4 separate regions of the Homo sapiens genome follow, and all the other regions are linked to region 1. The links are contacts of gene promoters, found by promoter capture Hi-C in blood cells and fetal thymus (Javierre and others, 2016). All regions are on one chromosome and are shown on one strand. The core of a region is centred on a gene start or on the middle of the fragment in contact, and the rest is flanking DNA. Distances in the headings are between cores, read along the strand shown.

Region 1 (7,568 bases), core at 3,793-6,292:
GCAAAAAATTCCAGACAATGAAATTTCTCACTTTCCAGGCTCTCAAGTGGAAGTTGCTCATTCACTCACATCCCACCTACCTCAGGGTTCAAAGTGGGATCAGTCCCTTCAATTCCTCTGCAATGCCACTTGCAGACCAACAGTCCCACACGCCCCCCATCTTGTAAAAATCTTGTTCCTTTGATGCTTAGAACATTCAGCTAAACCGCAGCTACTCACTTTGCTGTCATTCTCTGAACCTTGTCATCACCCAAACCTCTTAACCTCCAAAATCACTAAGACATCTAACTATCTGATCTCCCATCATTACAGCTAGACTGCTTACCCACTATCACTTTTATTCTCCAGCTGTATCAAGCCACTATCCCTTGATCTCTCCAATTTCTCTGTATGTCAGCCACATCCTATCTAGTTTAGATTCCTTCATTTCAATCAGATTCTCGCTGATATTCATCTTCTTGTTCCACATGCTTAGCAAAACTCAAGCCCTGTTAAGTTCAACCATCCAACTCTTTTATGTGTGAATCTAAGTTGCTGAGCACTGGCAATCCCACTTTCTCTCTAGTCAGCCCCTACATGCTCTCCCCCTACACATTCTCTGATCCCGATTCTCTGCAGATGATTTTGCTTTTGATTTCCGAAACAAAACCAAAGCCGTTAGGTGGGAGATACTTCAACTTTTTGCCAAGTAAGCTAATACTCCCTGCCTCTGACACCTTCATTCACTCTCTAACACCAAACCTTTCACTTGTGTTCTAGCCCCATTCCCCCATCTCCTAATGGAACTGGAATTAGTTTATCCATTTCTTTTCTATTGGCTCCTTCCAAACAGCATTTAAATATGTTTATAATTCTCATCTTCACACATAACTATCCTTCACCCCATATTCCTCCTTCCACTAATATTCTCCTCCTCCTACAGTCAAACTTTTAAGACATAAATAAAAGTATATAGATATAAAAAAAGTTTAAGATATAAATAAAAGCTCCTTGATTATTTTAATTTCCCTGCATCATCCTAAGAAGCATATTGTCCCCCAACTCATCAGTGAAATTAAAATCATCAATAATCACTGTATTATTAATCCAATGGACATTTCTCAGCCTCATTCAAGTTGACCTCTCAGCAGCTCCAACACTACTTTCTTGAAACATTCACTTTTCTTGAGAAGCAATTCAACGAGCAGTAAAATTCCACAGTTTTACAAAATTCCCTCAATTTTTTACAGTTGTCTCATTCACACCTATTTGGCAGCTTTTTTGTTTGCAAACTCACCTCTTTTGTCTTTCTAAAGCATTCAATTTAGTTTTAGTTTGCTTCCTTTACTTTTTTAGAATTGTTTTCACAAAACTTTTACTTCATATAAAATACTATAAAGATAGCAACAAAAGGCCGGGCGCTGTGGCTCATGCCTGTAATCTCAGCACTTTGGGAGACTGAGGTGAGCAGATCATGAGGTCAGGAGATCGAGACCATCCTGGCCAACATGGTGAAACCTCGTTTCTACTAAAAATACAAAAATTAGCTGGGTGTGGCGGCACACCCCTGTAATCCCAGCTACTCAGGAGGCTGAGGCAGGAGAATTGCTTGCAGGAGGTTGCAGTGAGCCAAGATTGCACCACTGCACTCCAGCCTGGCGACAGAGCTAGACTCCGTCTCAAAAAAAAAAAAAAAAGGAGCAAACAACCATCTATGGTTCAACTTAGTTTTTTAGTTTTTTGTTTTTGTTTTTTTGAGACAGAGTCACGCTCTGTCTCCCAGGCTGGAGCGCAGGGGCATGCTCTCTGCTCACCGCTGCCTCCGCCTCTGGGGTTCAAGTGATTCTTCTGCCTCAGCCTCCTGAGTAGCTGGGATTACAGGCATGTGCCACCATGCCCAGCTAAGTTTTGTACTTTTAGTAGAGATGGGATTTCACCATGTTGGCCAGGCTGGTCTCAAACTCCCAACCTCAGGTGATCCACCCACCTCGGCCTCCCAATCAACTTAGTTTTAATAGAAACAATAACTCTTTCATATTAAAATTTATTTCCCCTGTCACCCAGGCTGGAATGCAGTAGTGCGATGATCATGGCTCACTGCACCTTGACCTCCTGGGCCCAAGTGCTCCTCCCCATCTCAGCCTCTCAGGTCACTGGGACCACATGCACACACCAGCAGGCCTAGCTAATTTTTATTTTTTTTGTAGAGACAGGGTCTCAACTATCTTACTCAGACTGGTCTCAAATTCCTGGGCTCAAGTGATCCTCTAGCTTCAACTTCCAAAGTGCTAGGATTACAGGTTTGAGTCACCACACCCAGCCTATAACGTATGTATAAAGACAAAGCAAAACATTAAAAAAAAAAAAAAAAAGGGTGGGAGCCTGGACAACATAACAAAATCCTGTCTCAACAACAACAACAAAAATGTTTAATTAGCTGGGTGTGGTGGCAAATACCTGTAGCTCTAGCTATTCGAGAGGCTGAGGCAGGAGGATCGCCTGAGCCCAGGAGTTCAAGGTTACAGTGAGCTGTGATCATGCCACTCGACTCCAGCCTGGGTGACAGAGCAAGATCTTGTCTCAAAAAAAGTGGGAACCAATACAATGACTCTTGGCAAGCATTCAACTCAACTAGTGGAAGCAGACTGACCACGTCTACAGGAGAAAAACCTTCAAGCTTCAAGCATTTAGAGAGGAAATAAGAGTATGTCAGTTAACATAAGGAGCTAAATGGAAATCAGTTAAGAGAGCTTCTATACAAGTCTTAAGGATTTTCTAGGCCAAGTGCTGTGACTCACGCCTGTAATCCCAGCACTTTGGGAGGCCAAGGCAGATGGATCACTTGAGGTCAGGAGACTAGCCTGGCCAACATGGTGAAACCCCATCTCTACTAAAAATATAAAAATTAGCCCGGCGTGGTGGCAGGCGCCTGTAATCCCATCTACTCGGGAGGCTGAGACAGGAGAATCACTTGAACCCAAGAGGCAGAGGGAGAGGTTGCAGTGAGCCGATATCACGCCACTGCACTCCAGCCTGAGTGACAGAGGAAGATTCCGGTTTTTTTTAAAGGATTTTCTACATCAGTATACATATATTTATCTCATTCTTCCTAATTGCTGCATGGCATTCCATAGAATTAGTTATTTAGACAATCTTCATTTAATGAACAAATGAGTTAAAATACTATTTCAAAAAATACTGCAATAAATATTCTAGTACAAATCTCTTCATTAATTCATCAATAAATTATTTTTCTCGAATAATCATCTGAACATGGAATTACTGTACTACACTGAAGAACATGCACATTTCAAAATTTGATACTACCAAACGGCTCACCAAAATTAAAACTATTTATGTATATTAGTACCCATTTTATCATACCGTTACTGATCTTTTTAATTTTCGCCAATCTGATAGGTGAAAGAATTCTTCCCCACTCTATTTATTTGCACTGATAATAATTGGTGTCAGCAACTTCTTTCTATATATTGGACATCCATATGACTTTTATGAATTGCCTGTACATATAATTTGCCTGGCCGGGCACGGTGGCTCACGCCTGTAATCCCAGCACTTTAGGAGGCCGAGGTGGGCGGATAACGAGGTCACAAGTTCGAGACCAGCCTGACCAACATGGTAAAACCCCGTCTCTACTAAAAATACAAAAGTAGCCGGGCATGGTGGCACGCGCCTGTAATTCCAGCTACTCAGGAGGCTGAGGCAGGAGAATCGCTTGAACCCGGGAGGCGGAGGTTGCAGTGAGCCGAGATCACGCCACTGCACTCCAGCCTGGGCAACAAGAACAAAACTCCGTATCAAAAAAAAAAAAAATACACTTCTCATGGAAGGCAGCAGCAGGATGTAATGGTACAAATTCTGGATACACAGTAAAGGAATAGATGATCAGTAAATTCGTACTGAGTTTCTAAAACCTTCCATTGCACCCCAATCTGTCTGGTTCCCATGCTGCTCCAGGATGCCAGCTTGACCTCCCCAGCCAAGAAAAAATAATGACACAACACTGCACCTTAAGTATGAAATTACTTTGAATACACTGCTTAGCTTAATATATTGTTTCCTAAAGTGTTCCTAGGGTACAACTGGCGGTATGCAAGATGATTTTAATGGTACGAAAACGAACATTTTAATGACTAGTGCTTTTATTTCAACTTACATAAACAATTATAAGTAGCCCATGAAACCCACGGTTTCATTTATATTGCTTAGGTCGAGACTAATGCATTTAAACTTTTTAAGTAAGTCAATTTAAAGAGAACTATTCAGAAAACAATAGTACAATTGATAAGAGATTGCAAAAATAGTGATGGCACGGGATTGACTTAAAATTGTATATGCCTCTGGAACAAAGAGGTTTGTCCATACCCTATACATCCCTCCAACAAAGTGAGTTGCCTCCGACGGAGTTGAAGTCGCCACCTCTGACTTCCCCAACAGGCAGCCAACTTGCCACGGGACAAAAGGACTAGACAGGGAAACACAACTGGCCCTTGGTTACGCCAATGGCGTTGCAGCGCGCGGGGCACAACCCTCGGGGTTAAAGAGCCTCCTCGAGGAAGAGGCTGGGACACAGCTGAAAGAGATTGACCCACAACCACTCTAGGGGCCATCACCTGCCCTTCTTCAGTCCTGGGCGTGAAGGTAGATTTCTCCCCTAGCCTGTGCGGGAGAGGAGCCCTGGTTTTTCTAACAAGGACTACTGTAGGTTCGCCGAGTTCGAGGGACGCTACGTATGCAGCGCCTACGCCCGGACACAGGCTTCCGCGTTACCGACACCGCGTGGGGGAGGAGGGCAAGACCCGAGGCTTGCAGAGATGGGGGGTGCACGGTGGCCACAGTAGGGAAGGTGCGGAGCATGATGGTGCTCTGTAGGAGCGCAGACGCTGAAAGGCGCGCTGCTGTGGCTGGGAGAAGAGCGGAGCCAGGAGTTTGTTCCCAATATCTTAGTGCTATGGCAAAAGAAGGGGGAGGAGTAATTGTGGGGCCCCCCACACACCCGCTGCGGCGATACACTCACCCTCGCCAAAGTCCTTCCGGAAGTCTAAGTTCGAAGATGGCGCCGCCTGTCTGGTCGCGGTCTTATGACGAAATCTTGTTAGCTGCTCTTCACTGACGCCCCCACCCCAGTGCACAAGGTAAACACGTGTGCTTGGTCCGGAGTCGGTGCCGGGCTAGTTTTCTCTTAGACTCTGTATTCCATAATGCAGCGCGGCCAGAGTCACCGAGCCCTCCGAAGCCAGCCGAGTTCCAGGGCGTCTTCAGCGGCGCCAGGGACGCTGCAGGGCCTCATGGGAGTTGCAGTGTCAAAAAGGGGAGATCGACGCCTGCGCGGCCAACGGGATCCCACGCGGCCTCGACGGGAGCCGGGAGTAGGCGGACTCCCAGGCCGGGCTCGCGCTCTGGATCCCTGAATCCGGCCTTTCCGGCCGGACTGCCGCGCCTGTGGCCGGAAGAGCCAGCTAGACCAGAGAGTCTGTACCTGCAACCCTGGCGGCGTCCGAGCCCAAGGCGGAGTCTGGGAGACAAAGAAGTCCTCGCCGCCGGCCGCTGGAGGATTCTGCCAGTAGTGAAGTCAGGGATGGGCCCGAGAGAGCTTGGAAAGAGGACAAGGAAGGGAAGGAGTAGGAGTAGAAAAGCATGACTTTGGCTGGGTATGGTAGCTCCTGTCTGTAATCCCAGCACTTTGGGAGGCCAAGGCGGGGGAGGATCACTTGAGCCCAGGAATTCGATACCAGCCTGGGCAACATAGTGAGACCCCGTTTTTATTTTTATTTTTATTTTTTCCTGAGATGGAGTCTTGCTCTGTCCCCAGGCTGGAGTGCAGTGGCGCGATCTCGGCTCACTGCAAACTCCGCCTCCCGGGTTCAAGCAATTGTCCTGCCTCAGCCTCCCGAGTAGCTGAGATTACAGGCGCCCGCCACCAAGCCCGGATAATTTTTGTCTTTTTAGTAGAGAAGGGGTTTCACTATGTTGGCCAGGCTGGTCTCGAACTCCTGACCTTGTGATACGCCTGCCTCAGCCTCCCAAAGTGCTGGGATTACAGGCATGAGCCACCGCGCCCGGCCTAATTTTTTAATTTTTTCTAGAGATGGGGTCTCGTTATGTTGACCAGGCTGGTCTTGAACACCTGACCTGAAGTGATCCTCTTGCCTCAGCCTCCCATAGTGCTGCGATCACAGGTGTAAGTCACTGAGTTTGGCCATTATTCCATTTCTGTACACAAAAACCTTTCTCATTCTGTGCTATAACTAGTTAGCATTTAATTGGGTGGATGTGGTATAACTAGTGCCTTGTTGATATTGATGCATATTTACATGGTTTTGCTGTTATAAACAATGGTCCCTTGCTATTATAAATCACACTGCTATAAGTAACCTTGCATCTAAATTACTTCAAATGTGTAACTATATGGGTAGGATAATTTCTAGAAGTGGAATTGTGAACCAAAGTTTTAGGTGCATTTGTAATTTTGATTTATAACCAATCTTTTCACTGATCTACTTCTCTGCCTCTAATTTCTACTAGGTGTTTGTTTGTTTGTTTGTTTGTTTTGAGACAGGGTCTTGCTCTGTCACCCAGGCTGGAGGACAGTGGTGCAATCACGGCTCACTGCAGCCTCAACCTGCCACCTCAGCCTCCTGAATAGTTGGGGTGTGTGGCAGGTGTATACCACCACTTCCAGGTTTTTTTGTTGTTGTTGTTTAATAGAGATGAGGTCTTGCTATATTGCCCAGGCAGGTCTCACACTACTGAGCGCAAGCGATCCTCCTGCCTATGCCTCCCAAAGTGCTGGGATTACAGGTGTGAGTTGCCATGCCTGGCCCGGTTATCTTTCTAAAGCATAAAGCAACCCTGTTGATCCTCTGCTTAATTTTGATGATTAAGTAGTATGTTCAAAATATAGAAATCCATGTATTGATAATGATCTTTTAAAAAAAGTAAAAGCCAAAATATCAGCTACTCATCCTACACCATTGAAAGTAGTGACCATTAAACTGCTCTACCTCTACCTCCACCTCTCTACCTCTCTACCTCTCTACCTCTACCTCTACCCACGGTCTCCCTCTCTTTCCATGGTCTCCCTCTCATGTGGAGCCGAAGCTGGACTGTACTGCTGCCATCTCGGCTCACTGCAACCTCCCTGCCTGATTCTCCTGCCTCAGCCTGCCGAGTGCCTGCGATTGCAGGCACGCGCTGCCACGCCTGACTGGTTTTGGTGGAGACGGGGTTTCGCTGTGTTGGCCGGGCCGGTCTCCAGCCCCTAACCGCGAGTGATCCGCCAGCCTCGGCCTCCCGAGGTGCCGGGATTGCAGACGGAGTCTCGTTCACTCAGTGCTCAATGGTGCCCAGGCTGGAGTGCAGTGGCGTGATCTCGGCTCGCTACAACCTACACCTCCCAGCCGCCTGCCTTGGCCTCCCAAAGTGCCGAGATTGCAGCCTCTGCCCAGCCGCCACCCCGTCTGGGAAGTGAGGAGTGTCTCTGCCTGGCCGCCCATCGTCTGGGATGTGAGGAGCCCCTCTGCCTGGCTGCCCAGTCTGGAAAGTGAGGAGCGTCTCCGCCCGGCCGC
Region 2 (7,568 bases), core at 3,076-5,575, 510 kb before region 1:
ACAGGTTTGACTGCTGGTTGACATTTATTTATTTGTTTGTTTGTTTATTTTGAGATGGAGTCTTGCTCTGTTACCCAGGCTGGAGTGCAATGGCAAGCTCTCAGTTCACTGCAGCCTCTGCCTCCCGGGTGCAAGCGATTCTACGGCCTCAGCCTCTGGAGTAGCTGGGATTACAGGCCTGTGCCACCACACCCGGCCAAATTTTTTTTTCTTTTTTTCTTTTTTTCTTTTTTTCTTTTTTTACTGAGACGGCGTCTCGCTCTGTCACACAGGCTGGAGTGCAGTGGCCCGATCTCGGCTCACCACAACCTCCGCCACCCGGGTTCAAGTGATTCTCATGCCTCAGCCTCCCGAGTAGCTGGGACTACAGGCGGTTGCCACCACACCCAGCTAATTTTTTGTATTTTTAGTAGAGATAGGGTTTCGCCATGTTGGTCAGGCTGGTCTCAAACTCCTGACCTCAGGTGATCCACCTGCCTCGGCCCCCCAAAGTGCTGGGATTACAGGCCTGAGCCACCGCACCCGGCCTATTTTTTTTTCTTTCTTTTTTTTAGATGGAGTTTTGCTCTTGTTGCCTAGGCTGGAGTGCAATGGCGTGATCTCGGCTCACCACAACCTCTGTCTCCCGAGTTAAAGTGATTCTCCTGCCTCAGCCTCCTGAGTAGCTGGGATTACAGGCATGCGCCACCATGGCTGGCTAATTTTGTATTTTTAGTAGAGACGGGGTTTCTCCATGTTGGTCAGGCTGGTCTCGAACTCAGGTGATCCGCCCGCCTTGGCCTCCCAAAGTGCTGGGATTATAGGCATGCACCACCATGCCTGGCCTATTTTTTCTTTCTGAGACAGGGTCTCCCTCTGTCACCCAGGCTGGAGTGCATTGGAGCAATCTGGGTTCACTGCAACCTCTGCCTCCTGGGTTTAAGTGATGCTTTCACCCCAGCTTCCTGAATAGCTGGCACTACAGGCACTTGCTACCATACTCAGCTAATTTTTAAAATTTTTTTGCAGAGACAAGGACTCATTATATTGCCCAGGCTGATCTCAAACTCCTGGGCTTTGTGATCCTCCCACCTTGACCTCCTAAAGTGCTGGGATTATAGGCATGAACTACTGCACCTGGCCTCACTTTTTTTTTTTAATGGCTAACTAGACTTCACAATGTGTTCCCCACACTAGGGTTGTCACTGAGAAGTATAAGGAGCAAAAAAAGGTGAAAAGAGAAGGATGAGGAGGAAACTTAATATTATACAAAGCTCCTGGGAATACTGGAGAGCCCCTTTCCCGGGGGCACTTCGAGGAGGAACAGGTTGCCGCTGCAGAGGAAGGAACATCTGGGTTCCATGACTTGGCAACAGGCTCTCCTTGAGGGTCACTCACCGTCACAGGCTCTCTCTGCACTGGAGATCCGGCCTTCTGGAGGCTGGCAGGGAGGACGTGCTGAAGCAGGAAGGGCTCAGCTTTGCACCAGGCAGATGTCCTTTGGAATCCTGGCTCTGCTGCTTACAGCAGTGTGACTTCGCAGGCAAATCGTTTAACCTCTCTAAATCCAGATAGCCTCATTTGTAAGAAATGAGCAATGCTACCTCCTGTGTGGAGTAGCAAGGATTAAATGATGTGTTGTAAAACACCAAATAGACCCGGGCTCATAATAGGAGTTCAGACAGTGCGATTTTCCTCCCTCCTCCTTTCATGGTGGTCTTTAACTTGTATTTATTCTGAAGTTTGTTAAGGCTGTTGGGAACTCAGAACACATTTACTCATAAAAACCAGTAGCCCTGGGCTTTGTGAGGTCTGACCCCCAACCCCTGCCTAACTCACCATCCCCATTCTCTTCCCATCACCCTCATTCAGGGACTTGACTTTCAAGACATGGTGGGTTCTTCTGCTGTCTTCCAAATACCCGCTTGGGTTCCCCACCCATAAGCTTTTGCTCCTTCACCCCAGAATCTCAGACCTTTGCTTAGAACTGTCCATCAAATCAATATCCAGGTGAAATCCAAATTCTAGCTCCTCCATCTCCCAGTGTTATGCAGAACTGCTTTCTTTCTCGTCTGAATTCTTATTCTACTTTATCTGACCGAGTAGTAATATGAGCTTTATAATAAAAATCACAACATATTGCCTTTTGTGGCTGTTACTGTGGGGAGTGTCACATATTCTTATATCCCTCACACTGTTCAATAACCACTTTCTGTGGGATAAATAATAATAGCTGCATTTGTTGCATGCACACTATGCCAGGCAATGTGCTATGGCCTTTATCTACCTTTCTTCATTTAATTTCCACGACAAGGTTAAAAGAATGTATATGACCCCAGTATTCTGGGTGGAGCTAAGGGTCAGATGGAGTAAGTCACTTTCTCAAGGTCAAGTCGGCAGAAACTGAAGGAGCAAGGATTCCAACCCAGCAATGCGGGACTCCCAGCTCTGTGCTCTTTCTACTTCCCAGGAAACGGAGCCTAAGTTAGCAACAACAAACCGAAGTCGAGGACTGAGGACATATGCAACCCCCGGTTTGGGTGCAACCTTTATCAATATCCTAAACTGACAGATGACGTAGAGGCAGCCGTTTCGCTGACTAGGGAAGGTAGCCCAAGAAAGCTAAGATGCTAGAATCCAAATTTAAGGTCTACGAGACGCTGCAGAAAACATTTACAGTCACTAGAGGGCTCTCTCTCCCTTAAGCAAAAAGCGCAGCACCGCCCGCGCGCGGTAGTCTCGGAACCCCGCCGCCGGGAGGCCGCTGGCAGCTCCACGCCACCTCCCTGAAGCCCAGTCCATTTTGCCTACATCCCTGTCCGGGCAAGCCCTGGAGAATCCATAGGGCAGTGCCCCAAGCTGGAGCAGTTTTCACAGCCACATCCCGGGCTGCACTGGGTTAGGGATGCTTTGAGGTTCCTCTGGGGGCTCCCTGCTCTCTGCTTACCAAGCAGGCGGGAGTTGGGAAGGGGAGAAGGAGTGCAGACTCAGGGGTGGGGTAATCCAGAAATGCATCCCTCAAAGGCCAGCCTGGCCTGGTCCAGGCCCTAAGCTCTCTGGGGAAGGACGGCAGGGAACCCCGCCTTGGCGGGCTCTGCGGGTCCTGCGCCCGGGTAGATTTTGCTGAGATGGGGAGAGGGGACCCCCTCCACGCCCCCGGAGTAGTGAACACCATTTTGTTTGAAAGTATCCTGCAAAGAGAACCACCTCACGAGGCCATGGCTGCCAGGGGACTCCTCTCCCCACCGGATCGCCGGGGAGCCCGGGGAGGGAGGGATTCTGCAGCTGCAGCTTGGAGGTCCTTGATGCTGCATTTTAACGCGCATCGCAACGCCTTTGGAGTGACATTAAGTGCAAAGAGGCAAATGACTAATCCAAACTATTATTACAACTGCAGAAAATAACACAGATCAATGGCAAAGGCTTGAACCGGGATTAGCTAGGGAGGTGGGACAAACCGGGGATGATCCTTCCTCTCCTTTTTTAGATTTGTTTATTTTGGTAAATTATGTATGTATTTAAACATGAAGAAACAGGTGAAGCGAATGTAAATTGGGTTATAAATAATTTCCAAAGGCTTCGCTGTCCCTTGACAGAAGCCAGAAATAAGACAGGCACTGGGCCTGAGCGCTCTGGACAGGGAAGCACCCGCGTGGCGCTGGGCAAAATCTTCTCAGTGGAGAGAACGCACTCCGGGTTCGAGACCTCCCCGGGTGCAGATGCGAACTGCGGTGGCCCCAAGTGGCCGTCCACTTTGTTCATGAGAACAGTTTTCCTATAACGCCCACCCGGCCCTTTGCATCCCGCAATCCCGCGGGCGTCGGAGCGGGTCTTGGCGCGAACCAGGCGGCCTCGGCGGGGTCCTGCGGCGGAGGGCAGCGCGGCCGCAGCCCGGGAGAGGCGGCCGCGGCATTGTTTCAGCCCCTGGGGTGGGATCCAGCTGGGGGAGGGGAGGCGGGGTGTCCTCCGGAACCGCCCCCGGCCCTCCCTGGGGACCCGTGCCTCAGCGCGTCCAGGCTTTGTGGTGTCCTGAGTCGCCATGGAAACCCGAGGGAACGCGGAGCCGGGTGCTAGGGGGGTCGGTGAGTTCTCCGGCCGCGCCCTCCGTCCGCTCTCGGACCCCGGCCCTGCAGCAGGGCCTGCCGGGAGTTGTAGTCCCCAGGCGGCGGCGGCGCGCGGCGCCAAGGATGCGGGACGCCGCCTGTCCCCGCCTCCCCTTAACCTGCTAGCTGAGGTGGGGAGCGGCGGGAGGAGCCGGCCGCGCGGTGATTGGCGGAGGCCGCTCCCAGCCCCCGACACGCGCCCCTCCCCCGCTCCCCACTCTGGACTCCCGCGCTGGGCGCGCTGAGGCGGCCCCCGAGCGAGCGCGCGTGCAGCCGCCGCCGCCCCGAGCACCCGCAGCTCCGGCGCCGCGGCGAGACGGAGACGGACCGAGCCACGGGCCCCCGCGGCCGCAGCATCTCGGAGGAGTGGGTGATGGCAGGGGGGTCGGTGGGCTTACCCCTCCCGGGCTAGGACATCCTCCTCTCCCCCTTCTGTTTCTGCGTGAGGCGCACAAAAGGGCGGGGAGCCGGGTGAGCCTGGGGCCCGGCCGCAGGGGACGCGGCGGGAGGTGTGGTTTGGGGTTGGGAGGTGGCCATCGGGGCTAAGCCGGGGCGCTCTTGGGGTCCTCTTTGTACGCCCGCGAAGCGCCGTGCCGGGCCTTGCTCATAGTAAGCGTTTAATGCGTGCTCGCGGGGTTGCAAAGCCCTGGGGTGAGGAGGCGGCTCGGCCGAGGGGTTTCGCGCCTAGCACGCAGTGGGCCGCTTTCCTAGCCGGGCGCGGTGCAGTGGACCGCTGGAGGGCTGGGCGGGGGCGCCTCTGGCCGGGGGCCAGTCCTGCCGGTCCCAGGATCTGCGCTGTCCCCGGTCCCACACACCACCCAGATACACACCCTCCGTCCTTCTCGCCTCCGAGCTGGGATCTGCCCAGCCTGGACCCGACCCGGCGGTCTGTTCCACCGCCCGGCTAACGGAGCGGACGCCTGCAGAGGACTCGCCCGCCGCCTCCGAGCCTCCCGCCTGAGCCACAAAGGCCTCCTGCGGCTGCCCAGCCCGGAGCGGGCGCCGAGCCGGGTCCCTCGGCTGGAGCCCAGCGCGGGAGCCCGCCTTGCAGCATCGATCTCAGCGGGCACCGACGTCGACGCCCCGGGCCTGGGGACGGGGCTGTAGTCTGAGCTGGAGAGAAGCCGGGAGAGGGCGAGGGGAGGCCTCGGTTGAGAAAAGATGGGGATGGGGAAGGCTGGGGAGCTGGGTTAGGACAGGTAGTGGGTCTCGGGGAGCAGGGAGTGGGAACTAGGGTTTGAGGAGGAAAGAGAAGGGGCGGGGGCGGGTCCGAAGAACGAGGGAAGGAGCTCGGTGCAGGTGGCGCCCGGCGAGGCTGGTTCTGCTGAAGAATGGGGAGGGGAGGAGGGATGCAGGCGGGTGGAGGCCGCCTGGGTTTGAGGAGGGAGGACGGGAGCGAGGAGAAGACCCGCGCTGTGCGGGGGAGGGGGGCCTCCTGGGAAGGGGAGCCTCCCGAGGAGGGAGGGGCAAGCAGCTGAGAGGCGGTCTCGGGCCCGAGGATCCTCAGCTCCAGGCGCGGGGCCCCGCGGCCCAGGTGGCCGGCTGGGCGTGGCCCTCGGACCGGGGTTAGGGACCCAGGATGGCAGATCCGGGACCGGGCTGGGCTGGCTTGGTGAGGAGCTTTGTCTCCAGGCTTGAAACCAGCCGGTAGCGACTCGCTTAGGGTTTTGTGATCTTCCGCGGCGCCCACGGCACGCCCTTTTCTCGAGGAGCTGAAAGGCTTTGCCCAGCAGCAGGTGCTGCCAGGGAGGCGGATCTCCCTTCGGGGAGACCCGGAGAACAATAGCCGACCCTGGTGTCCATCCGACGACAAACCAGGGCCACCCAGGACGCGAGGGTGCAGTTTTCTGGTGCTGGGAATACTCCCTGCGGAACCTCCGGGCACGTGCTGGCTTTGGGGTTTTATGGGGGCCTGGCCACGCCGGGAATCCCGTGTGGGAGGCGCTCCCCCGGCCTGGGGGCCTGCAGACAGCCACCCCCCCACTCCGGCTCGGGTGCCTTCTGGTGCAGCGCCGCCGCCCGCCCCGCGCTGTCCACCCGCTGCCGAGACGCGGCGTGGTTAGCGGCGCGGAGCTGCCGGGCGGCGACGCAGGTGCCAAAGACTGGAGGTCGCCTCGGTGCAGCGCGGGTTCCCCCGAGCAGCGGCTTTGTCTGCCGAGGCGGCCGTAGTCTAGGGGCTGCAGCTGTGCTTTCTCAGGGGGAGCCGTAAGGGCTGGTGCGGATTGTGGTCAAATTGCGGAGAAGCGGGTGGAAATGATCCCGCAAGGGTGAGGCTCTAGGTTTGGGAGCCGCTGCTAGGGGTCCAGTGCTTTTCTTTGCCAGTGACCACACCCAAGCCAGTGCGTCTCTTGCAGACTTCGCCCATATTGTCTGCTGACCTAAGACTGGGGTAGCTCTGTGATAGGCGCTGCTTGCCCGTGGGAAAGCAGATGAACCGAATGGAAGCTTAAAACAGGCTTTCAGCAGGGCTTTCCACGCACTCAGCCTCTCGCCCGCCGTCTAAACACCTTGCAAGTCACCGCTGCAGCGCCTTGACATGTGAAGTGACACCCAAAGCCAGAATTCTGTGTTGCACTGTTGCTTTGATAACTGGTTAGATGACAAGTTAAAGGTGAATCTTTAGCATAAAGTTATCATTTTAAATTGCCATTCATTAAAAAAAAAGGCAGGAATGTTTTTGTTCCCAGACTGGGCGATACTTGGCATTGTAGAACTCATTGATGCCACTTACATTTGCCACTAAGTTAACTGAGAACCTGTTGGTTCTCTTAACCCAGCCTTGAAATCTCAGGATTTGCTTTCTTAACAAGATTAGTGTGTAAGGTGAAGGACTGTGCTGTGGCTGTTGGCTTTTGCCCAGGACAGATGATAGCTGTCAAAGTGAAGGCCTCTTGTCTGAGTGTCCTTTCTGGCCATAGGGAGTCAGCAGTAGGCTATGTCTTGCTGGTTTTAAAGGATGGTGTTTTGAGGAGGTGCCTCACAGAATTTACAAAACTGATCTGGAAGGACTAGCTGGAACATTGCTCATTGGTTGTTTTTAACTATATTTTAACTGAATTATATATATGTATATATTAATATGTATATACACACATATATATATACACATACTATATTTTACTAAATTATATATGCATGTGTGTATTTATGCATACACACAAACATGGATTCAGAGTACATAAATACTAGGAATCTCAATATTAGAAACCTAGAAATCTGACAGTGAAGGTTTTTTCTTGTAAGAGAGCTCCAATGGGAAACATGTTTTCATATTATTACCCAAAGGGAACAATTTCAGGAAGGAGTGTTTTGTTGGCTTCTTTTTTGTAATAATTTTATGGATTTTTAAAAGGATGTAATCTTCTTAAAGCACTCTGTGAACATCCATTGCAGTCTGTTCCTCATGGCAGGGAATCCATAGACAAGGAATGCCGGTATGACCAGCCTGACGTGAAGGCCTGGCTGTTGTCAGCGTAACCTCTCTAG
Region 3 (7,568 bases), core at 2,411-4,910, 340 kb before region 1:
CTAGCTGCTGTCCCCATACTCCAACAAAATGACTCAGAGTTTCATCATTTCTTATTGCACAATTTAATGACCATATCGCCACCTCTGGTCTGGTAGCTTCATTAAACAGGGCAGATGACCTCCTCTTTGAAAGTGGGCCCTCCCTTGGCTCCTAAGACATCACCTTCTCTCCACCTCCTCTATTTTCATCGCGTCCCTAACATTCCTCCAGGACTGAGTCATTGGTCTTATGCTCTTTTTTTAAAATAAAAGTAATAATAAATATGTTTCCCATGTCCAGAATTTCCCATTTTCTCCTCGCTGCTTTCTGGCATCCTGTCATCTTTAAAGGCCCAATTAGGTGCCACCTTCCTCCAGAAACCCTCTAACTGCTGATCCCCCTCTCATCTTTTTCATGTGCCTGGAACACTTAAAAGCCAAAGGTGCTTTCACTATTTAGCACTTCATATATTCTGCTTTGTGGCGTCCCTTGTTATTTTATAAATTACTCTTACCTCTTCAACCAAAGAAAAGCTCCTTAATAAAGACAAGACCCATGCCTTGAAATGATCCCATGTCCTCATGATGCCTCACTGGGTGTTGAGCATTTTGTCAGTGGTCAGTAAGCACTTGCTGGTCGAGATTAAGGCAATGCTAGGCCGGACCTGGTGGCTCATGCCTGTAATCCTAGCACTTTGGGAGGCTGAGGCAGGTGGATCACTTGAGGTCAGGAGTTCAAGACCAGCCTGGCCAATACGGTGAAACCTCATCTCTACTAAAAATACAAAAATTAGCTGGGTGTGGTGGCACACACCTGTAATCCCAGCTATTCGGGAGGCTGAGGCAGGAGGATTGCTTGAACCAGGGAGGTATAGGTTGCAGTGAGCTGAGATCATGCCATTGTACTCCAGCCTGGGCAACAAAGCGAGACTCCATCTCAAAAAAAAAAAAAAAAAAAGAAAGAGAGAGGTTAAGGCAATGCTGCAATGTCTTGAAAAAATAAGTATAAAGAAGAAAACTGGGCCAGGCATGGTGGCTCATGCCTGTAATCCCAACACTTTGGGAGGCCGAGGCAGGCAGATCACAAGGTAAAAAGTTTGAGACCAGCCTGGCCAATATGGTGGCCCCATCTCTACTAAGAATACAAAAATTAGCCAAGCATGGTGATGGACGCCTGTAATCCCAGCTACTCGGGAGGCTGAGGCAGGAGAATTGCTTGAACCTGGGAGGTGGAGGTTGCAGTGAGCCGAGATCATGCCACTGCACTCCAGCCTGGGTGACAGAGCAAGACTCCATCTCAAAAAAAAAAAAAAGAAGAAGAAGAAGAAATCCTCTGAAATTCCCTTTCCCTCCTCCTAATTCTCAAGGGGTGAAATCTGGGCAAGTCATCCTGCTCTAGAGCTGTGAAAAATCAAATCGTCCTTCCTGCACCAGTGTGGTGGTGTGGAAAGAGCATGGGATTTGTGTTCATTTGGCCAGGTTCAGCTCTGATCTTGCCAGTGGTTGATCTTGAACTTGGAAAAGTCACTGGAATCCTCATCCTTCATTTCCTCAAAAGCAAAATTGAGGTAACAACTCAAAGGCTTTCTGGAGCTGGATGCTGTAATCCACAAGAGTGGCATTTCTGGTGGGAATTTCGGGCACTATGGTAGGGCAGGAGAGAAGCTATCTGCAGGCCTTCTGGAAGCTCTCCAGTGCATGTCCCCACTGGGGTGGGGGCTGACTGTCTCCACGTGGGGTTAGTCCTGCAGAACAGGCAGGTAGAGTAGAGTCTGAGGGCATGAGGAAAGGCAGTCTACTGGAGAGGGCACAGAGAGTTCAACAAACACTGAAACTTAAGTTTGTCCTGGACATCTTCAGCATCCGACTTTCTGGTGGAAAGCTTAAAGTATAAATGACTGTGCCCTCTCAAAAGGGCACAGAAGTAAAACTGGGAGGATTTTGGGAGGGGACTGGATGTGGGGTGAAAGGTATGGTGAGAGCAGAGAAGAGGGGCCTGAGCCTGGGGTCAGGGGAAAGTAGGCTAAACAATTCACAGGATGCAGACATTTCAGAGAAGGGTGACACATCACTTGGCCCTGAACAACAACTATAAGCCAGACAGTCCAAAGAGACATAGTTCCAAAGGAACATAAAGTGACATGGCTTGTTATGTGTCCCCAGAGACATGGATGTGCTTTTGGAACTTGAAGGATAATTAAAAAAACATCAGACCCACCAGGGCTGCTGCAAACATGACAGTTCCCTTCCCAACACGTCATGGCAGCTGCTGCAGCTCCCTTCCCTCTATCCTGAGGCTAGCCACAGATGGGCCAGCAGCCCACCCCCAGAGCAGACCAAGCAGAGAGGTGCTCCCAGGAGTTACCAGGTTCCACTCTCGGAACCATCTTAAAATCCTGTTCTGGGAAATCCAGCAGCACCATGTTATATGCATTAGAGGGAGACTGTTTAAATCCCTTGCCAAGGTTCCCAAGGCTTCGTGCTGCATCTGTTTGCGTGTAGCCAGGGAGTGCAGCTAGCATTCTCCTCTCCTTGCTTCTCCATGTAGCCAGTGGCACCTCCTCAGGGTCAACAAACAAGAAATAAAAGCAGAAAACCACACTTTCTGAGTCCACCTGCCATCTGAACCCCCCAAACCCTAGTTTAACCTCTCCCATTCATTCATTCATTCATTCAATAAATATATAGGTACTGAGAAGCTATTGTGCACTGAGCCCTGAGCCAGTACTAATTGAGGGAAGAAATGGGCAACATAGCTTCAAAAGCACAGCTCTGTCTTTCTGCCTGAGGCAGCAGAGAGTGGATACCCAAGGCTGTCCCTACTCTCTCCCTGCTCAGGACCCTGATCAGAGGGTCTGTGGGAATTGGGTCAGGGTGCAGGAAAGAAGATGTTGAGTCAGATATGTCTATGTCAGTGATCTTGCCTATCAGTAAAGGTTGCTCAGCCCCCAAAGCAGCGTGATGGTGAACCTTTGGCTCCTGCCAGCGGTACTCATTATCCTTCCAACAGCCCCATGCTCAATCATACCATCATTCTGATGCTTCATGAGAACTGAGGCTTGGATATCTTCGCCTACTTGCTTGTGTCTCACAGGCAGCGAATGGCAAAGCCTGTAGCCAAGTCACACTGTCTGCCTTCTGCTGGGAGCCTTGGATTGATGGGTGACTCCATGGACATTTGTTGACCTAAAAAGTAGGTGTTTGAGGAACTGAAAGATCTCCAGCAAAGAACGTTTAGAAAGAAAATATTGCCTATCTGCCCACCTAGATGAACCCTACTGAAATGGATTGATTTTAGCGATGAGAAATTTTGTTTACTATACTGCAGGGTTTCCGTTAACCCTCGAAGTTATGGTCAGATAGGGTGACCTAGCCAGAACCTACCCCAAGGACTCCTTCCCTGGCTAGCAGCTACAGGGATGTGGCACCATTATCCCAACCAGCCTGGGGAGAGCCTTAGTAAGAGTTCAGATCATTATTCAGCAGGACATGTCCAGGATCCCAGTGGCTGGAACTTCAGCAGGGCTCAGGGTCTTAGAGTTGTGACCTAAAAGTGTTGTGAGAACAAAATCCTGGAGGAGTTTCAGTCCCTACCTGAACCCACAGCCGTCCAGATCCCTGTCCTGGATGTGTGGGAGGGGGCGCATGCTGGGCTCCAGGCCAACCCTGCAAATACTCCACTTGCCCCGTCTCTGCATTGATTAATCCAGCTTTGAGAGGCTGAGCCTCTCAATGAATCAGGTCCTTGCTCAGCCATAAGAAGAAGGTGATTGGCCAGGTCTGCCAGGGCTTTGTGACCCGCTGGCTTGCTCCCCAGCCCCTCAGAACCCCTCAGCCCCACCTGCACATACTGCCTCCATGCAAGCCCAGAATAACCTGGATGTGTGACTCACAGGGGTAGGGGTAGCAATTTTGCAGATTTTCCAAACAGGTGACTTCAGCCCCCGGGCCTGGGCAGGAAGGGGTAGCCCAGTGACAATGGGCATAGTCCCACTTCAGGAACGGGAAACGTGTTGGCTGGCTCTGTGGAGTTCTCTCTCTTCTGATCCCACAGCATCTGTTCCAGTTGTCTTGGCCGGTAGGATGGCGTCTACAAAGCAGGCTATATGGGAAATCTGGAGCTGGGGAGGGATTGTGGTCAGAGCCCAGCTTTGGGAAGCCCATGTGGCTGTCTCAAGGCAAAGCAGCAGAGAAAAGTTCTGTAGTCTGTCTCCTTTCTGGACTGGCATTTCCATGGTCTGAGACCAGAGGCTGGCTGTGTGTCAGGCACCTACTCCTCGAACAAATGCCCTTAGATTCTCACTGTCTGTCCCCGCGATGCTGACAGCACTTGCCAAATACATACTGAATGTCAGGCTCTGTGCTCAGCACTGTGTACACATGGCTCACTTAATCCTCATAACTGTTCTGTGAGGTGGGAGCTGTCACTGTCCTCACTTTATAGATGAGGACACTGAGACCTAAAGTCAAGTCAGACAGCTAGGACATGGTACAACTAGGATTTGAACCCACCTGATGTGCCTGGAGATCTAGTGTTCTTAAGCACTACCTTTCTGGAGCTTGCTGGAGGCATGCTGGCCACCTCCTTCAGGACTGGTAGACCTGGTGTGTCTTTCATAGCCACGCTGGGCAGAGGGTGGAGGCCTGGAAACTGCAGGGGGTTCTTCCAGGGACCAGCCAGAACAGGGCTAAACTTGGGGTAAAAAGAGCTCTAGAGAATTAGAGAAGACTGAGGGCCCCTAAATTACCCTTAAGACATATTTGTGGAAGACAGATTTAAAAACAAAAAGCCAAAATTAGATTTAGGCTGGTGATAAGGTCATTAAATAATAGAATGTGAAATTTCAGTTGTGCAGACTTATTGGCCATCTTTATGATTTAAGAATATAAGTGCCTAGATCTAAGTGCAGTCCTAATCGCCTGGGAAGGAAGCAGATGGTCTCTAGAAACCCTTCTGACCATGGGTTAGTGGGATTTGGTCTTGATGACCATTTTTAAGGCCTCAGTCTGCAGAATGACCAGCAGCTTCCCCTCCCGCAATGAGAGCTGTAATTGCCTTTCCCAGTTGCCTGTGAATGCACCATGAACCTTACAGTCCTAGTATAGGAAATGACTCAGCAAAATCACCAGATTAAACCTCCTCAACTTTTCTTTCCCTTGGCTCCATTCCTGATAGCAGGAGTCGAGGCCCTTCAGAGCAGGCTTTCCCCAAAGCCACGTTGTCGGTCTGATCCTCGAATGGGGATCCGCCTGGATGATGACATGCCACAATCCAATCAGGGTCTGTTTCTCCTGACAGTCACATGTGCCAAAGATCATGGTAGAAACATGTGGATGGGGTTGGAAGACACTGCTACTACATCTCTTGGGACAGAGCCTGCCCCCTCCGAGTGGCTACCTACCATTCTCTCCGGGGAGGTGAAGGAGCTCTTGGGAACAAGTGTGTTATTATTAAGAGTTTCGTCAGGTTATGTCTTTTTTTTTTTTTTTTTTTTTAAGATGGAGTGTCGCTCTTTTGCCCAGGCTGGAGTGCAGTGGCGCTATCTTGGCTCACTGCAAGCTCCGCCTCCCGGGTTCACGCCATTCTCCTGCCTCAGCCTCCTGAGTAGCTGGGACTACAAGTGCCCGCCACTGTGCCCGGCTAATTTTTTGTATTTTTAGTAGAGACGGGGTTTCACCGTGTTAGCCAAGATGGTCTGGATCTCCTGACCTCATGATCCGCCCACCTCGGCCTCCCAAAGTGCTGGGATTACAGGCGTGAGCCACCGCGCCTGGCAGGTTATGTCTTTGCTGTAATTGGAGGCAGCTGGTCCACTTAGACCCTGATGCTTGGGCAAATACTTTATACACCTCTGCCCCCAGCAGCTGGTCTGGTGTGAGTCCAGGCCCAAGTCAACCCCCAATGCAAAAGCCAATCAGAAGTTGGACCTCTTTGGTGAGTTCAAACTGTGGTTTTAGGGGATACGGAGGCTGGCTTAGTTCAGTCCAGGATCTTAGAACAGCCCCAATGCTCCAGGCCCCTCAGCCAGCCCAGCTTTTAGAGGCTCCCAATTTGAGCTCTAAACTGAGCTCTGGAAAGGGGGTTTGGGGGATGGGGGATACATTTAAAGGAGTTTTTGCTCAGGACCTGGGTGCCACCTGCTGGCCATGTTTAGTTCTACTTACAGAGCCAAAGCTACGAGAGGAAAATTAAAAGGGCATCCTGCCCTCCCCAATGTGATGTTTGCTCAAAGGAAACAAGGAGGCTGTTACTTCATGCTGCCCTAGCAGGTGCAGCAGAGAATTCCTGCAGAGACCCCTGGGTGCCCTGGATGAGTCCTCCTGAGCCAAATGGACCCCCATTAGGGCAGAGTGTAGCACCAGTTGTGAGGACCTGAGCGAGTCCTGAGTAGGGACTGAAGCTGTGTTCCTGCTACTAGCTACCTGCTTCCCCAGAAGCCCCATAGTGGGTAACAGCATGATTCGTTGCTGGGTCCTGAAAGGAGCCATTTTTTCCAGCTTCCTTCACACAGGCACTGCTGCCACTCATGGGACCCTAGAGTCAGACCGAAGGTATGGAAAATGCCCTCCCTTCATCAGGCATTGACAAGACTGGGTCAATGCTGAGAAGACCTGGGCATTTTTCAAGCCGCTATGTGGCTCTTAGTGACTCTTGGGAGCCCTAAAAGCAAGGCCTTTAGTTGTGTTCTAAACTCCAGGGAAACTGGAGATTTTCCCTGTGTGCCAAGGACTGGCTAGTATTTTCCCCCCAGATAAGTGGCAGAACATCCCAATGTTCCAGCCTTTGCCATTGCAACAAAAGCCAGTAAATCACAGCTAAGTATGCATATCAAATGAAGGCTGTGGTTCTCATACAGGGCTGTGCACCAGAATCATCTGGGCTATTCTTTAAAATTATGTGTGTGTGTGTGTGTAAAATATGTGCATATAACATATAATGTATATATAATATATCATACACACACACACTTGGGCTGCACTGTAGCCTCTTGAAGTCTCTGCAGGAGAAGCCAGTGGACTCTCCTAGTAAAGAATCTCTGCAATGCATGGAAGAGGCCTGAACCATTAGCAGGTCCAATCCTGTGGAACCAGGAAAGCTGCCCCCAGGCTGGAAGACCCTTGAGGCTCAAATGATTTCAATCAAAAACTGGAGGATATATTTGGACTAAGACCATTGCCTTTCCTTTTCTTCAGTAGTCACCCCTTGAAATTCATACACTTTAAGCAGAACAAAGTCCCTAAAGTGGCTCGGAAACTCCCAGGGCCAACCTAAGACTACTCCTTGCCCCCAGAACCACCCAAGACCAGATCAGCCCCTCTGAGGCCTGTCAGCCACAGCTGGCCCAGAATCACTCTGCCCCAGGGGCCTCATAGGGAAATGAGTCTCTGAGCCTGTGGAACACTCCTGCAGAGTCATTCTGGACAGTTCCCGGAATAGCTGGTGCCCTCTGCACCAGCTCCTGGCCGTCCTCTGCACCCTCCCTGGGGACCTGGCAGAGTCTGACCACTGTGGCCCTGGGGTCATTCACATCCATCTCTCTACCTCTGCATGCCCTCTCCTTCCCTATTCTTGTGGCACTTGCTGTTTC
Region 4 (7,568 bases), core at 2,613-5,112, 310 kb before region 1:
CTCCATGGAAATTACTACACATTTGTTTTTTTTTTTTTTTGGAAACGGAGTCTCACTCTGTCACCCAGGCTGGAGTACAGTGGCGCGATCTTGGCTCACTGCAACTTCCGCCTCCCGGGTTCAAGCAATTCTCCTGCCTCAGCCTCCCGAGTACCTGGGACTACAGGCATGTGCCACCACGCCCGGCTAATTGTTTGTATTTTTGGTAGAGACAGGATTTCACTGTGTTAGCCAAGATGGTCTCGATCTCCTGACCTCGTGATCTGCCCGCCTTGGCCTCCCGAAGTACTGGGATTACAGGCATGAGCCACCACGCCCAGCCTACTACACATATTTTAAGTTACGATGCCTCCCACCAAAGAGAAAGATTTAGTTTCCAGGTAGTAAATATTTTTCTTATTTTCTTTTTAATTTTACTTTTTATTGTTTTGAGACGGAGTCTCACTCAGTTGCCCAGGCTGGAGTACAGTGGCGCCATCTCAGCTCACTGCAACCTCCACCTCCTGGGTTCAGGCAATTCTGCCTCAGTCTCCCGAGTAGCTGGGATTACAGATGTAAGCCACCACTTCCTATTAGTAGAGACCAGGGTTTCTCCCTGTTGGCCAGGCTGATCTCAAACTCCTGGCCTCAAGTGATCCTCCCGCCTAGGCCTCCCACAGTGCTGGAATTACAGATGTGAGTTACCGCACCCGGCCTTATTTTATTATTATTATTTTTGAGACAGGGTCTCACTCTGTTACCAAGGCTGCAGTGCAGTGGCTTGATCACAGCTCATTGCAGCCTCAACCTCCCTGCACTCAGGTGATCCTCCCACCTCAACCTCCTGAGTAGCTGGAACTACAGGCATACGCCACTATGCCCAGCTAATTTTTGTATTTTTTTTAAGAAATGGGGTTTCACAATGTTGCCCAGGGTGGTCTTGAACTCTTGAGCTTAAGCCATCTTCCCACCTCAGCCACCCAAAGTGCTGGGATTACAGGCATGTACCACCACGCCCAGAAGTTACATTTTTAATTTTCTTTCAGACTGTTCATTATTGGTGTAAAGAAGCTCAATTTGTTTTTTTGCATGTTGATCTTGTTCTCTGCAACTTTGCTGAATTTTCTCTAATAGTTTTTTTTTCTTCTAATAGTTTTTTGGTAGATTCTTTGGTATTTTCTATATATAAGACAATATAGTCTGCAAATAGGGATAGTTTTATTTCTTCTTTTCTAGGTTGGATGCTTTTTATTTCTTTTTCTTGTTTAGTTGTTCTGGCCAGAAATTCTAGTACAATGTTGAGTAGCAACAGTGAAAGTAGGCATCTTTGTCTTGTTCCTGACCTTAGTGGTTGTTCCTGACCTTCACCGTTGAGTTTTATGTTAGCTGTGGGTTTTTCATAAATGTTCTTTATCATGCTGAGGAAGTTCGTTTCTATTTCTAGTTTTCTGAGTTTCTACTTTTCATGAAAGGGTGATGAATTCTGTCACCCTTTCCTGTATCAATTGAGATAATGTAGTTTTTTTCCTTCATTTTATTAATGTGGTATATTACATTGATTTATTTTTCTTTTTTTCTTTTTTTGAGATGGAGTCTTCCTCTGTCTCCCAAGCTGGAGTGCAGTGGCCGGCTCACTGCAGCCCCTGCCTCCTGGGTTCAAGTGATTCTCCTGCCTCAGCCTCCCGAGTAGCTGGGATTACAGGCGTGCACCACCATGCCCAGCTAATTTTTGTATTTTTAGTAGAGATGAGGTTTCACTGTGTTGGCCAGGCTGGTCTCAAACTCCTGGCCTCAGGTGATCCGCCCACCTGGGCCTCCCAAAGTGCTGGGATTACAGGCGTAAGCCACCAGGCCCGGCCTACATTTATTTATTTTTCTTATGTTGAACACCCTTACATTCCTTCAATAAGTCTAACTTGGTCATGGTTTTCTCCTTTTAATATGCTATTGGATTCAGTTTGCTCGTATTTTGTTGAGGATTTTTGCATCAATATTCATAAGGGATGTTGATCTGTAGTCTTCTTGTGGTCTTTTGGTCTGGCTGTGCCATCAGAATGATGCTGGCCTCATATAATCAATTAAAAAGTGTTCCCTTCTTTTCTATTCTTTCGAACAGTTTGAAAGGATTGGTGTTACCTTCATTTAGTGATCTGAGAGAAAAAAAAGGACTGGTGTTAATTCTTTAAATGTTTGGTAGCATTCACATGGAAGTCTTCTGATCCTGGACTTCTTTCTGTTGAGAGGTTTTTGTTTGTTTGTTCGTTTGTTGAGACGGAGTCTCGCTCTGTCGCCCACGGTGGAGTGCAGTGGCACGATCTCGGCTCACTGCAACCTCCGCCTCCTGGGTTCAAGGGATTCTCCTGCCTCAGCCTCCCAAGTAGCTAGGATTACAGGCATGCGCCACCACGTCCGGCTAATTTTTTATTTTTAGTAGAGAAGGGGTTTCCATGTTGTCCAGGCTGGTGTCGAACTCCTGAACTCAGGTGATTCACCCGCCTCGGCTTCCCGAAATGCTGGGATTACAGGCGTGAGCCACCGCGTGTGGCCTTTTCTTTGAGACAGAGTCTCTCTCTGTCTCCCAGGCTGTTGTGCAGTGGCGCACTCTAGGCTCACTGCAATCCGCCTCCCAAGTTCAAGCGATTCTCCTGCCTCAGGCTCCCGAGTTGCTGGGGATTACCGGAGTGGTAGGAGCTCACTACCACTCCCGGCTGCTTTTTTTTTTTTTTTTTTTTTTGAGACGGAGTTTCGCTCTTGTTGCCTAGGCTGGAGTGGCGCGATCTCGGTTTACTGCAACCTCCGCCTCTCGAGTTCAAGCGATTCTCCCACCTCAGCCTCCGGAGTAGCTGGGATTACAGGCGCGCGCCACCATCCTCTGCTAATTATTTTTGTATGTTAGTAGAGACAGGTTTCACCATGTTGGCCAGGCTGGTCTGCAACTCTTGAACTCCGGGGATCCGCCCACCTCGGCCTTCCAAAGTGCTGGGATTACAGGTGTGAGCCACCACGCCTGGCCATGAATGTGATTTTTTGATATTGAATAATAAAAGCTATGCAGATCTTCTATATTCTTCTATCTAAATGTTGACACAACTTTATATCTAGAAACTTCGGATTTAAAGCTCAGCCCGAGAGAACCCATCAAATGTTGGAGCTGCAAGGGGCTAGAAAGCATCACCAGACCTGGATTCGCGGGCGATGTTGGCTCAAGGTAGCACAGGACGTTGGCCCAGAGCTGGAAATTGAGGCCAGGTCTTCCGGCACACCCACCCCACAGGACGACCAAGCAGGGCTTCACAGAGGAGTTGGGGGTTAGGTTTATTTCTGTTGTTAAAAACCCGGTGAACAAAAGGTTGTGGAAAAAACACATGCAAAAGACAGGCGAAGGTGTGAGCTGGATAGGGACAAAGATGGGGGAACCCGTGGGGTCACTCCTTGACCCCACCCGGGACACCTAGACATCCACAGTGTCGGGGGAGGGGCCCCAGACCAGGCAGAAGACCCTTCCCCGGCCCTGGGGAACCCAAGATTTCCGAGAGTAAGCGGACCTGTGCAAAGACCCACAAGGGAGGCCAGTGGCCTGTGCTGGGCACTGTACAGCCGCCCCGACCCCGACCTCACGTGGGCCTCGGAGGCTGCAGGGACCTACCCGGCCGCGCGCCGCCCACCATCCCAGGTCTACCGCAGGGGAATCCCCCAGGCTTGCGAGCGCTTCCGAGGGCAGGAAAGCCTGTACTGCAGCCCCGCCGCCCTCTCCTGGCGCGTAGCCCTCTCCCCGAGCCCTCGGGCCACGCCGCCAGGCCCGCGATCCCAGGGCGGCCCGGGGGGTTCGGCACAGCCCGATAATGCGCCGCGCCGAAGCCTGCAGCACCCCGCGGTCGCCGTCTCTCTTGCACTGGTCAGGACGAATAGAGCCTGACAAAACCTGAGTTAATTGGCCGAGCGAATGTCGTTCGCGTCAGGAGAGCACGTCCGGAGAAGCCAAGGGAAATGTGGAGCAGGAGCAGCCAAAGTGGCCCATCGGCTCTCGAGCAGGGTTTGCGCGTCGCGGTCGCAAAGCCCCTGTGAGTGCAGGTACCGCGGCACAAGCGCTGCCCCGGAGCTCCAGGAGGCGGCGGCGGGCTCGGCGTTCGCGGTCCAGGAGAAACCACCGCGGGGTGTTGGGAACATTTTGTTAAAAAGCCGGGAAGCTCAGGGCCGGTGTGGCCTCCGTTCTGGCCTGAGAACCCGGACTTTGGGCAGCTTCTTTTCCTTGCCTTTGGGTCTCCGGCTTTCTCAGCTCTGTGAGGTCCCATGGGTCTCCTGCCCTGGCAGGTTCCTTCAGCTGGAGAAAGCGGGGGTCATGGCTGGATGAGGTTGCGGTAAGCATTAGAGGGCTATCAGCAGCATCTTATCGCAGCGGAGCCTTCGATAGCTCAGTTGGTAGAGCGGAGGACTGTAGTGGATAGGGCGTGGCAATCCTTAGGTCGCTGGTTCGATTCCGGCTCGAAGGACTTCGTCTGTAATTTTTAACCTCAATTTAATTCAATTATCCCATAAGGGGAAAGGCTTGGAGGCCTCCTGTGACTTAGCATTCGTACTGCCGTCAGTCCATAGGGAACACCGTAGTATGTAGTATACGGTAACGCTCTTTCTGCGTTCAATGTACATGTGGTAACGTGTTTTAGAATGTTTTCTGCTTAAGCACACGATTATATGCTTGATTTTTAGAATCTTGCACATGGATGCCACTGTATTGTACTCTGCTAAATAAATGTCCTGAACTGTGGTTGATCCACTGGTCAGTGAACAGTGCAGTGAACCTGTAAGGCAAAGGGAAAGAACTAAGCAGCAGGCGGGGGATTAGCTCAAATGGTAGAGCGCTCGCTTAGCATGCGAGAGGTAGCGGGATCGATGCCCGCATCCTCCACTCAGCTTTTGCGTCCGTCACACTACAGAACACAAAACGGGAGGGATTCCCGGCGCAGTGGGCTACGTGTTTCATTTTAGAGACACAAGACTGTTAAGCGATAAGGAGTTTCACACGATGTCTTTTTATTTCGCAGTTGAGTCCCAGTTTCTGCCGCTTTATCTTTCCCGCCTCCCGGCAGGCAGGCCGTTAACCGTCTTCCGGAAGACGCTGCTAGAACCCTCCGGCCGCTCCTGCCCGCCATCGTCCCCGAACGACACTCGCTCAGGTACCCACTAACGTGCGAGGAACCCTGAGAGCTGACCAATGGTAGCGAGCTTTACTGGGCGGGTCGCCAGCTGCAGCCACGGCCAATAGGCGAGAGACTTCTTGTTTCCTGGCAGAGCGGGGTCCCGGCACCGCGGCGCTCGGGTGTTTTTGGGGGCCCGGGTGGAGGGCCCGGGTGCCGGGGCCCAAGGTGCGGCCTCGCTAGCGGGAGAGGGAGCGGGATCACCGGCCCGGAGAGAGGTGAGGGGCTCTGCGCGGACTACGGGCCCCGCCAGCCCCGGCCCCGCCAGCCCCGGCCCCGCCCCCTTCTCTCAGCCCCTTGAGCCCGAGCCCCTCGAAGGCCACCCCGCACCCCGCTCCCGACCTGGCTTACGCGGTCCCGACCCCGCCCAGCTCCGTGGCCTCACCTCTGACTCCTAGGCCCTCCCTGCCTAATCCCCTGCCGCGGGAGCCCGTCTCGACCCCTTCCATGCCTCCCAGTCCCACCCTGCCCAGGGCAAGCCCGCTCGGTGTGACGGTTCCCCGCGAGTCGAGGGTGGAGAAGCCAGCCTCCTTCCCCCGAGTGGGACTCTAGCAGCCCACCTCTTTTAGGGGTGCTGAGAACACCCATTACTCATCCACAGCTACTAGGGTAGCTTTCTCAGGGTGCAGTGCTTACGGGGCGGAGGGGGATGGAAACAGACCCATGCCCTGGCTGGAAGGGAGCTCCAGTCGCTAGGTGAGCCCAGTAGCCTTTGGCTTGGCAGAGGCACCACTGTTATAGTTTTTCTCCATACTAGGCATAAGGTAGGAACAAAAAAGGAAGAACCAGCCCTTCCAGGGCTCAGGGGAGCAACACCAGAATGTCCGCTCAGTACTTGTGAGGACAGAGGCTGGAGAGAGGACTACCCATTTACACTCAGAACCTCGATTCCTCTCTCTGCTCTGTGCTGGAGAGTGCAGAGCCAGAGATCCAGAACGGCCCATCTCTAAAGGTGGCCATGTATGGTGGTGAGTGTATCTTGGCTAGGTTTGGAAAATCTGACCTCTCTGATTATATTCTCTAATCTTTGGGCTGCAAAGCAGCTGAGAGTTTAGTGTTTTTCAACATAGTTAAGCCACTGAGTTTTATTTGGGAACAGCCAAGCTAAAGTAAAATGGGGTCCCTTTAGGTCATTTACAACCCTTAGTGTTGGGGTACAGAATGCTGCTTTCTCTTGGCCTTTGCTGGAAGACCACTTCTATGTTTTCTAAGAGGGAGACAGCCTTTTGTTTCATAGGGCACTCCCTAAGAATAGCTCTTATTTATCAAGAGATACCCAGAAAACTCTTCGATTTGTCTTCCCTTTCCTCCTTAACCTAACCCTTGTTTTCCCCCAGCTCTCAGGGCCAGAGCGGGGCAGGAGGATGCTTTCCCAGCCCCACCATGGAGCTGCGCTGTGGGGGATTGCTGTTCAGTTCTCGCTTTGATTCAGGGAATCTAGCCCACGTGGAGAAGGTGGAATCTTTGTCCAGTGATGGGGAAGGGGTAGGAGGTGGGGCGTCAGCCCTGACCAGTGGCATTGCCTCTTCCCCTGACTATGAATTCAACGTGTGGACCCGACCAGACTGTGCTGAAACGGAATTTGAGAATGGGAACAGGTATATGGAACGAAATGGAGGGTGGAAAAAGGCTCCAAACCCATGCTTCAGTTAGCCCTCTGACTTATCTGTTCATACCCAGCATACTCCCTGTCCATTTCTGACCCATCGTCCCTCCTTTCTCCTTGCCAAATAGCCCTTTCCCAGTTTGGCTGGCTCCGGCTCTCCCACAGACCATATCTCCAACCCTTCCACACGTAATGACCTCTCTCTTACTCTGGTCCTCAGGTCATGGTTCTACTTCAGCGTCCGGGGAGGAATGCCAGGAAAACTCATCAAGATCAACATTATGAACATGAACAAGCAGAGCAAGCTGTATTCCCAGGGCATGGCCCCCTTTGTGCGCACACTGCCCACCCGGCCACGCTGGGAACGCATTCGAGACCGGCCCACCTTTGAGGTAAGTTCTCCATGAGGAGGAAAGAAAGACTTGGGTGCTAAAAGTAGAGAGGAAAGTAAAGCGTTTTTTTTTCCTTGATACAAGTATGAAGCAGGTGGGACAACAGGTTTAAGTATCAGCTTTTTCTCCAGTGTTAGCTAGAGTCCAAGATGAGCCCCTGCCTCAGGAAGCCTAGAAGGAGCCACTTTTCATATAGAAAGTGTCACAGGGAGGGAAGTTGGTAAAGGTGATAAGGGTGTGAGGTCAGTTCCTGGTGGTCCCAGTAGGAGCTCAGTTCTGACAATGGCATGTTGCCCCTCCCTCTTCCTCCTCTGCTCTTCAGATGACAGAGACGCAGTTTGTGTTATCCTTTGTTCATCGTTTCGTGGAGGGCCGTGGGGCCACCACCTTCTTCGC

Evidence for each region. The method cuts DNA at HindIII sites, captures the fragments that hold promoters and counts their contacts. A CHiCAGO score of 5 or more calls a contact.
Region 2: a contact is called between the fragment with the promoter of DPYSL5 here and the fragment with the promoter of GTF3C2 in region 1, in 5 of 17 cell types (naive B cells, total B cells, naive CD8 T cells and 2 more). The highest score is 9.5, in naive B cells.
Region 3: the fragment with the promoter of MAPRE3-AS1 here is called in contact with the fragment with the promoter of GTF3C2 in region 1 in 10 of 17 cell types (erythroblasts, naive B cells, total CD4 T cells and 7 more); the score reaches 9.3 in erythroblasts.
Region 4: a contact is called between the fragment with the promoter of AGBL5-AS1 here and the fragment with the promoter of GTF3C2 in region 1, in 16 of 17 cell types (total B cells, naive CD8 T cells, total CD4 T cells and 13 more). The highest score is 30.9, in total B cells.

The regions. Positions count from the first base shown.
Region 1 is chr2:27,351,722-27,359,289 of GRCh38, forward strand. It overlaps GTF3C2 (general transcription factor IIIC subunit 2), which reads right to left and starts at 5,043. Exons shown (of 19, transcript NM_001035521.3): 1 at 5,018-5,043. It overlaps GTF3C2-AS2 (GTF3C2 antisense RNA 2), which reads left to right and starts at 5,044. Exons shown (of 4, transcript NR_183827.1): 1 at 5,044-5,135; 2 at 6,087-6,181; 3 at 7,164-7,568. RefSeq lists enhancers at 4,437-5,050, 4,564-4,843, 4,894-5,233, 5,051-5,664, 5,244-5,373. The HindIII fragment of the contact is 6,500 bases long and covers 2,655-7,568 here.
Region 2 is chr2:26,843,807-26,851,374 of GRCh38, forward strand. DPYSL5 (dihydropyrimidinase like 5) reads left to right here and starts at 4,326. Exons shown (of 13, transcript NM_020134.4): 1 at 4,326-4,448. The HindIII fragment of the contact is 4,603 bases long and covers 1,923-6,525 here.
Region 3 is chr2:27,010,928-27,018,495 of GRCh38, forward strand. It overlaps MAPRE3-AS1 (MAPRE3 antisense RNA 1), which reads right to left and starts at 3,661. Exons shown (of 6, transcript NR_149018.1): 1 at 3,574-3,661. The region is part of intron 1 of MAPRE3 (microtubule associated protein RP/EB family member 3); the gene reads left to right. The HindIII fragment of the contact is 5,889 bases long and covers 1,860-7,568 here.
Region 4 is chr2:27,046,402-27,053,969 of GRCh38, forward strand. AGBL5-AS1 (AGBL5 antisense RNA 1) reads right to left here and starts at 3,863. Exons shown (of 2, transcript NR_046730.1): 1 at 3,779-3,863; 2 at 3,282-3,603. It overlaps TRY-GTA2-1 (tRNA-Tyr (anticodon GTA) 2-1), which reads left to right and starts at 4,381; the gene lies at 4,381-4,469. TRA-AGC8-1 (tRNA-Ala (anticodon AGC) 8-1) reads left to right here and starts at 4,813; the gene lies at 4,813-4,885. AGBL5 (AGBL carboxypeptidase 5) reads left to right here and starts at 5,267. Exons shown (of 15, transcript NM_021831.6): 1 at 5,267-5,392; 2 at 6,512-6,772; 3 at 7,001-7,172; 4 at 7,495-7,568. The coding sequence starts at 6,558. RefSeq lists silencers at 3,648-3,857, 4,560-4,854, 5,258-5,697, 5,718-5,767 and enhancers at 4,018-4,307, 4,478-4,707, 5,022-5,521. The HindIII fragment of the contact is 15,630 bases long and covers 1-7,568 here.